2 separate regions of the Homo sapiens genome follow, and region 2 is linked to region 1. Evidence: promoter capture Hi-C in 16 types of primary human blood cells and fetal thymus (Javierre and others, 2016). All regions are on one chromosome and are shown on one strand. Each heading gives the region's core, a stretch centred on a gene start or on the middle of the fragment in contact. The rest is flanking DNA. Distances are from core to core; before and after follow the strand shown.

Region 1 (4,201 bases), core at 966-3,465:
AGGGGATTTGCTGCAGATATTTATAAAAAGTAACTCCCTCTGTACCACTGACCCATTTATACATAAAAAAGATGTGTTGAATTTTGCTTGGGGTTTGTCATTTCTGTTTAGGAGATGGGAGTTCTGTGAATAAGAGACTTTGCACACCTTCCAAGTGAATATCCACTACATTCCACCCCTGTTCCTGCACTTAAATCACTGGCCTGGAAAGCTGAAGATGGCATTTGCTGTCATCTCTGATCATCTCTGAGTGTGCCTGTCTCCCATCTCCATGTTGTGGAAGGAGCGTCAACAGAAAGTTCCCCTTGAGATCCGTCCTCTGGATGTAGACCGCAGTGTTTGTGATAAACAGTGGCCCAAGACAGCAGGGTTTGGGGTGGTCCCGCACTTGGAGGAAGCCCATCAAGGAACGTTGGTTTATTTTCACAGCTGTTTGGTGGTAGGACTTTCATAGAAAAATCTTGAGATTCTATAGAGCTCCAGCCATTAGCTTATTCTCAGCCAAGAATCATTGTATAATTGGGTTGGATTTTAGCCATGCACTTCTAAACCTTCCCTTTAAGGAGCGGATCTGTGTCTTCACCTCATGCAGCCGGCTCTCAACACCAGTGCCTGTGTGCCTTTGTGGGGTCCCACGTGTCCCTTGGGTGGTATATTGGGGGGTGGGCAGGAGATCCCTGGGGGTGTCAGGAGGAACATGGCAGAGCCTGCAGGTGGGTGAGCAGTATTCTCCATGGATTGGTTGGTCCAGGCTGCAGTCTTGCCCTCTCTCTCGGATTCTCCCACTCTGGAAACCATTCCCTTGCTAGCTCTCTCGTCTCTTGTACGCTTGGGGAGGTGAGACCTATTATTAACAGGACACATAACTGAAGGTTAGGGTTTCAAACCTGAAGCCAATCTGGGAACACAAGGGCTCTGTAAAAAGCATGGCTATATGTTACTGAGTCCTCGCACACGTTAAATGGAGCTCTCCCGAGTTGCAGACATGGCCGTACGCTCTGCGCATGAAACAGAGCAGATCCTGCCAGAATGCAGAACAATTTCTTTTAAACTTTAGGAATGGTGTCCCTCATGTCTCACATTCAGAATGAGACAGACTCGAGTTTTTAAAGTTGGTTCCATGATGTTCTTGTCTGTGGTCTTTGTTGGGGGTGGGGGGTGAGAGATCATAAGACAGTTTGTGAGTTTCAAACATGATTTTACCTCTAAGACAAAGCATGAGAAGAAAATCCAGGAAGGTCTCACAATCCTAAGATATTTGGAAACCACCGTTTTAGGTCGGGGTTACGTGAATGTTCCCCATTTGTGAGACCCAATTTCATCTTGCTTTCTACCCTGGTATGGAGGAATTCACATCTTTTTTCCCCTTTCCCGAGAGAATTATTTCTTGGAGCTGCTCATAAGAGTCTTCTGTTTTTCCAGATAGATTCCTTCACCTGGATTTTGTTAAACTTATTAAGTCGGACCAAATTGGCTTGTGTGTTTCCCTGAAGTGAACGTTTCACCAGAGCCACGATGGGTTTTAGCTTTTCTGATAGCTGATGGATATTTTTCAAGGCAAGCGAGAGCCTATAAGCACTTTCTGAATATGACAGAGCACATGCTGGTGAGAGGAGACCGCACAGGCCAGGTGTTTGGGGAACAGTTTGTTAAAGCCAATGAATTTCGCAAATGTGCTAGATGATGAAGAGTTCTCAGCTTTCCCGGTTGCAGTGATCAGAACTCTGTAACTGGAGACCGGTGTGAGAGAAGATTTTATTCTCTGCCATCATGACCGGGTCTATACGACTGCAGGCAATTGCACAGAAGACTAGAAATGCTGATTCAGTTGGTCAGTTTGGGGTGGGACATCTTACCAGTCCAGCAGAACCAACTCTGGCTTGGGTTTTTCTAGCTGGTGACAGGTGACCAACTCATTCTGATGAGTTGATTACGCCTGTGGACGTGGCCCACTTGATTTATTTTTTCTCCCTCTGTTAGCTGTGCTCTCCCAACCACCTGATAAATGGACCCAGTATGATTATTTCTGAGCCATCTTATCTCTCTCACTTTTAAAGCTTGGATTGGGTTTGCTTTTAGAGCTTTTGATCTCTTATCTCTTGGTTCTTGGACTTGCTTTGATACCAAACAGCCCTCATAGTCTTTTGAAAGAACACCTTAAAAATTCCTAGGCTGGGCGCGGTGGCTCATGCCTGTAGTCCTAGCACTTTGGGAGGCCGAGACAGGACAAATATTTGAGCTCTGGAGTTTGAGACCAGCCTGGGCAACAGAGTGAGACTCTGTCTCTACAGAAAGTTTTAAAATTAGCCAGGTGTAGTGACACATGCTTGTAGTCCCCATTACTTGGAAGGCCAAGGCGGGAGGATGGCTTGAGCCTGGGAGGTCAAGGCATCAGTGAGCGATGGTTGTGCCACTGCCTGGAGATAGAGTGAGACCCTGTCTCAAAAAAGAAAGAAAGAAAGAAAGAAAAATCCCTAAGACCTGACCTGCCTACTCCCTAGAAAGCACCAAATAAGGAAAAGCACTCCGGAAGAATGAAGCTAAGAAGGCTGTGCTCTCTGAGGCATCCGGGCAGCCTTCACTGGAGGGACAAGGTCCAGGTAGGTGGGATGACAAGCTGGGAAGGGGCCCTGAACCAGAGGCAGGTGATGTGGGTGGTGGCACCAGAGAGACACCAGACAGTGTTACCGTAGGTCTTGACTGTCCACCTTCATTCCTGAAGTTGATCCAGCTTTCTTACTGTCACGTAGGTGGATATAAAATCGATCTTTAGGGTTCTGATTTTTTGTTTGTTTTTGTTTTTTTTGAGACGGAGTCTCACTCTGTCACCCAGGCTGGAGTGCAGTGGCACAATCTTGGCTCACTGCAACCTCCACCTCCCAGGTTCAAGCGATTCTCGTGCCTCAGCCTCCTGTGTAGCTGGATGTACAGGCGCCCGCCACCATGCCAGGCTAATTTTTGTATTTTTAGTACAGACGGGGTTTCACCATGTTGGTCAGGCTGGTCTCGAACTCCTGACCTCAAGTGATCCGCCTGCCTTGGCCTCCCAAAGTGCTGGGATTACAGGCATGAGCCACTGCGCCCGGCCGGGGATCTGAGTTTTAATCACTCCCAGTGCAAGCGTCCTTATCTGGTTTGCAGACTGAGTGGCATTTGTGCTGCCGAGGCTCTTCCTGGCTTGCCCTCCTCTCTGGCTGTTGCTTTCCCTCCTCTGTTCATTAGAGCCTCCTCTCCTCGGCTTGTTGCTCCTATGTGCTGTGACCTAAGCTCTATGCTCCTTCTTCTACATTAGGGTTCATAGCCCAGGACTTTGGGGAGTCTGTGGATGTCCAAATTGAGTGTTTTACCTCAATTTGGTTGAGGTTGCAGTGAGCCGAGATTGAGCCATTGCACTCCAGCCTGGGCAACAAGAGTGAAACTCTGTCTCAAAAAATTGTATTTCTGGCCGGGCGCGGTGGCTCACGCCTGTAATCCCAGCACTTTGGGAGGCCGAGGCAGACGAATCACGAGGTCAGGGGATCGAGACCATCCTGGCTAGTACGGTGAAACCCCCGTCTCTACTAAAAATACAAAAAATTAGCTGGGCGTGGTGGCGGGCGCCTGTAGTCCCAGCTACTCAGGAGGCTGAGGCAGGAGAATGGCGTGAACCCGGGAGGAGCTTGCAGTGAGCGGAGATCGTGCCACTGCACTCCAGCCTGGGCGACAGAGCGAGACTCCATCTCAAAAAAAAAAAAAACATATATTTCTTTGATGTTTACTGGCTGGCATTCTTCTGTAAAGAAAGTCTTTCCCTCCCTCCAACTCAGTTTTTGAGTGTTCCTGGAGGCCCATGGATTTTTTTTTTTAATTCAATGTGTTGTAATCGCTTACTGTTATAATTTTTTTTGATGCTCAAACTGTTCAGAGGGAGAAGACAGCTCTTGTGTCTTTTTGCCATATTCCCATGGTTCTTTGAGCATTTTATTTTCTTTTACTTTTTTGAGACAGAGTCTCACTCTGTTGCCCAGGCTGGAGTGCAGTGGCGTGATCTCAGCTCACTACAACCTCCACCTCCCAGGTTCAAGCGATTCTCGTGCCTCAGCCTCCTGAGTAGCTGGAACTACAGGCATAAGCCACCACGCCTGGCTAATTTTTATATTTTTAGTAGAGACGGGGTTTCACCATGTTGGCCAGGCTGGTCTTGAACTCCTGACCTCAGGTG
Region 2 (4,201 bases), core at 1-2,500, 93 kb before region 1:
TGCTTGCCCAGATCAAAGGGCCAGGGCTGAGAGCTGGGCTGCCTGCTTATTTGTGGCACCAGGGGCTGCTGGGCCAGGAGACAGGGAGTGGGGGTGGCTGAGGGTTAGGCCTGGGCTTGCCCCTGCTGTTTCCCTCTTGGGACCAGGCAGGAAAACTGCTGAGGATGAGCCCACTTTCAGCAGCCCCTTTGCAGATTAGATGGCTGCTGGTTTGGACCTGGCCCCTGGACCCCCTGCAGGAGCCATATCTCAGGCTCTCTGAAAGCCCACAGCAGAATTACAGCTCATAGGCTGGGCGCCTATGGCTTACGCCTATAATCCCAGCACTTTGGGAGGCTGAGGCAGGTGGATCATCTGAGGTCAGGAGTTCGAGACCAGCCTGTCCAACATAGTGAAACCCCATCTCTACTAAAAATACAAAAATTAGCCAGGTGTGGTGGTGGATGCCTGTAATCCCAGCTACTCGGGAGGCTGAGGCAGGAGAATCGCTTGAAGCCAGGAGGCGGAGATTGCAGTAAGCCCAGATTGCGCCATTGCACTCCAGCCTGGGTGACAGAGTGAGACTCTATCTCCCCAAAAAAAAAAAAAAAAAAAAAAAAAAACAAAAAAACCGCTCATAGGTTTTGCTGTTTTGGGAAATCAGGAGCCCCCATGGCCTACACCTAGAGAAGCAGCTGCCACTGAACCTACTGCCTGGCAGGCCGTGTGCTGGGCTCTGCCCAGACTCAGTTCTTACCCTCAGGTAGATTCCCTCTATCTATGGGGGCAGAAAACGTATCATCAAGCCACCACCCAGGCACAGGGGGCTGTGGGAGCCTGGGTGGACGGCAGAGAGCGTGCACCTAGCTCTGGCCGGTGGCCGCGGAGAACACTTCCCTGAGGAGGAGACGTTTGAATGGGGCTTTGAAGGATGAGTTAGAGTTTGTAGTCAGTGTGTGAGATCGAGTAGATGTGTGAAGCCCTCCTTTCCCCTCCAAGCTAGATAAAATATGCCAAGAAAACATGTTGAAATTACAAAGCTGAGCTTGACAGCTAAAGCTAGCAGGGAAATTCCCAGATGCCAGAAGCAGAGAGCTGAACTCAAAAACCGGAGTGGGAGCTAGAATTGAAGCCAAGTGATGCAGAGTGTTTAGGGACCAGATAAACGTCTTCGAAGCTTGTTACGGTATTTTCAATATAAACATTTTTATCATGAAAAATTTTAAACAGACATAAAAAGTAGTGAGAATGGCGCAACGAACTTCCATAGAACACATCACCCAGATTCATCAAGGGAACGCCCGCCTGGCTCAGTTTCCGGGCCTGGGGTTTCTTCGTTCTAACCGTGGGTGATTTTGTTTCCATCCAAGCTTCCTGATTCCAAGCTGTGTCCCCAGGCTGCTGGGTAGTTTTTCTGGTAGAGTTCCCTTTCGAGAATGGGCATTTCCCACCTGGCGCTGGCTAGTTCCAGCCCCTGCTCCGTACAGGCCTGGGGCTTCCACTTCCTTCCCCATAGAGGCCCCCTCTGTTTCCAGGGACCCTGGCAGAAGCAAATCCCAAACCATTCCTTAGGGAATTCTTCATGACCCAGAGCCTGCATGGGACACGGGACAATTTCCACTGAAGACAAACTCAAATTCAAAATTAATAGAGCAGGCCAGGCGCGGTGGCTCACACCTGTAATCCCAGCACTTTGGGAGGCTGAGGCGGGTGGATCACCCGAGGTCAGCAGTTTGAGACCAGCCTGAACCAACATGGTGAACCCCATCTCTACTAAAATACATAAATTAGCTGGGCATGGTGTGGGCGCCTGTAATCTCAGCTACTCAGGAGGCTGAGGCAGGAGAATCGCTTGAACCCAAGAGGTGGAGGTTGCAGTGAGCCAAGATCACACCACTGCACTCCAGCCTGGGTAACAAGACCAAGACTCCGTCTCAAAAAAAAAAATTAATAGAGCATACAGTTCTCCCTCATTTTTTTGAGAGGGAGTCAGCTGACCCTGAAGATGGGAAAACAGATTCGTCACAAAGGGACTTTAAAATTAGGTGTGTTTAATATTCAAAGCTCTAAAGGAAAGGATAGGACTTGTAAGACAAGAACAGAACATTATGAAAAGAGAACCGGAAAATGTTTAAAAGACTAATATTCGAAAATACCAGAAGTGAAAAATATGTATTAAAATAAAAAATGGAATAATTAGGTGAGTTAATGAGTAGACTACACCTAGTTGAAAAGAAAAGTGAATTAGAAGCTAGATCTGAGGAAATCAGCGTCAATGCAACACAGGGAAGGGTGAGGGAGAACGAAGGCTGTTTGTGGCACTGCCTGACTCGAGTGGCCTGTGGCCCATTGGCCATGGGTTGGCGTATGGGGAGAACAGAAGGAGAAGAGGCTGGACAGTGGGCAGGGTCTGAGTGTGAAAGGCTTGAAGGCCAAGATAAGGCATGTAGGTTTTGTCTTGGGGCAGTAGGGAGCCAGAGAAGGTTTTGGAACAGGGCAGTCCGTGTAAAATGTGTGTCTCGGGCCGGGCGCGGTGGCTCACGCCTGTAATCCCAGCACTTTGGGAGGCTGAGGCGGGTGGATCACGAGGTCAGGAGATCGAGACCATCCTGGCTAACATGGTGAAACCCCGTCTCTGCTAAAAATACAAAAAATTAGCCGGGTGTGGTGGCGGGTGCCTGTAATCCCGCTACTCGGGAGACTGAGGCAGGGGAATGGCATGAACCCAGGAGGCGGAGCTTGCAGTGAGCCGAGATCGCGCCACTGCACTCCAGCCTGGGCGACAGAGCGAGACTCCGTCTCAAAAACAAAACAAAAACAAACAAACAAAAAAGATGTGTGTCTCAGGATATTCATTCTGGGACCAAGTGTGGGAAGGGGCAGCAGAGGAAGCTGAAGGCTACTCAGGGCCGGGGTTTGTAGGCTCACGAGGAAGTGCCAGGATGGGGATGGGGGAACGGAGGGAGAGTGGGGACAGAGGAAGAGCCAGCTCAAACCGAAACCAGACAGTGCCTCTGTTTTGGGGGTAAGTCTCCTTCTGCCTGTTCTCCCCTCCCGTCTTTGGCCAGCCCAGCGACTCCTGCTTCAGCAGACTTGGGTTCTGAAGGCACAGCCGGGCAGCCCCTGCGGCTGTTCCCCAAAGCCCTCCTTTTCAAGGAGTGGCCCCAAAACCTCATTCACCCTGAGGCCTGAGAGCCCAACACAAGGTTTACATCCTGAGTAGGGGATCACAGAGCAGGTGTTCCCGTCCTTCCACCGGGAAGTCTGAGCGTGGTGAGCTTTCAGGCGCTGATGGGGCCATCTGTCCTGAGCATTCTCCGTCAGCTTGGCCAGCCCAGGCCGTCCCTTGGATGGCAGAGCCTGGCCCCCGCCCCACCCATGCCTGCCTGAGCACCCTCCCTGCCCACAGGATGTGGAGGATGGTAGGTCTTCTCCAAATAACAGATCAGCCATGTAAAAATAGCCGTGGCTCAGCCCAGGCCGAAGCAAGGGCTGAATGCAGGCTCCAAGGCCACAGGGCGGGGGCTCAGGGCTCCCTCAAGCTCAGACTTGCCCTTTCCTGCTCCAAAACTGCTTTCTGGGGTCATACAGGCCATGTGTGCCATGGGGATGGCTCCGCTCACCATGGACAGGGGTCCTGGGGCTGCCCACCAGGACACCGAGGGCCCGTGGGGGTTCTGAGCTCTGGGCTGCCGTGAGAGGTGGACAGCACTGGCTTTCTGACGGCCTCCTGCCAGCCTGGCGAGGAGGAGGGAGTGAGGCCCTGGCCCAAGACCCCGAGGCAGGCGGGCTGGTCTGACCCCTCCCTCCCTGCTGTCACGGCCCTGCCCGCTCGGCCCTGGCTCCCTGCCCTGCCTCTCCATTGTCCTAGACCTGTGGGCTCAGCACACCCTCCACAGGATGTCCCTGCGGGAACTGCTGGGAAAGCCGCCCCTACCAAAACCAGGGGTGGGGCTGCCAGTCTGCCCAGAAAGCTCTCCTCAAACAAACAAAGACCACGGGATTGCGGGGTGGTGGGCAGGGGAAGCTTCTAGCTTGGAGGCCCAGCCCAGGCTGGTCTTTATTCTCAGCAGAGTTGCCTGCTGGCCTCTGTGTCCCCATCGGACACAGTCCACATGGGCAAGGCTTCGCCTATCCTGTCCCTTCTGCCAGGAACATTCTCTCAGCCCCCTCCCCGTCCCTACCCTGATTGTGTTCAGGCCCCTCCATGGCCTGTGACCTC

Evidence for each region. Contacts are between HindIII fragments. The CHiCAGO score rates a contact against its expected background, and 5 or more counts as called.
Region 2: a fragment that was not itself captured here is called in contact with the fragment with the promoter of LINC01996 in region 1 in 2 of 17 cell types (M1 macrophages and M2 macrophages); the score reaches 6.6 in M1 macrophages.

The regions. Positions count from the first base shown.
Region 1 is chr17:4,608,234-4,612,434 of GRCh38, forward strand. LINC01996 (long intergenic non-protein coding RNA 1996) reads left to right here and starts at 2,216. Exons shown (of 2, transcript NR_145431.1): 1 at 2,216-2,600. It overlaps SMTNL2 (smoothelin like 2), which reads left to right. Exons shown (of 8, transcript NM_001114974.2): 8 at 1-86. The HindIII fragment of the contact is 12,447 bases long and covers 2,056-4,201 here.
Region 2 is chr17:4,515,742-4,519,942 of GRCh38, forward strand. The region is part of intron 2 of SPNS2 (SPNS lysolipid transporter 2, sphingosine-1-phosphate); the gene reads left to right. Among named protein-coding and RNA genes, the nearest start is that of SPNS2, 19 kb to the left of the region's middle. The HindIII fragment of the contact is 193 bases long and covers 1,155-1,347 here.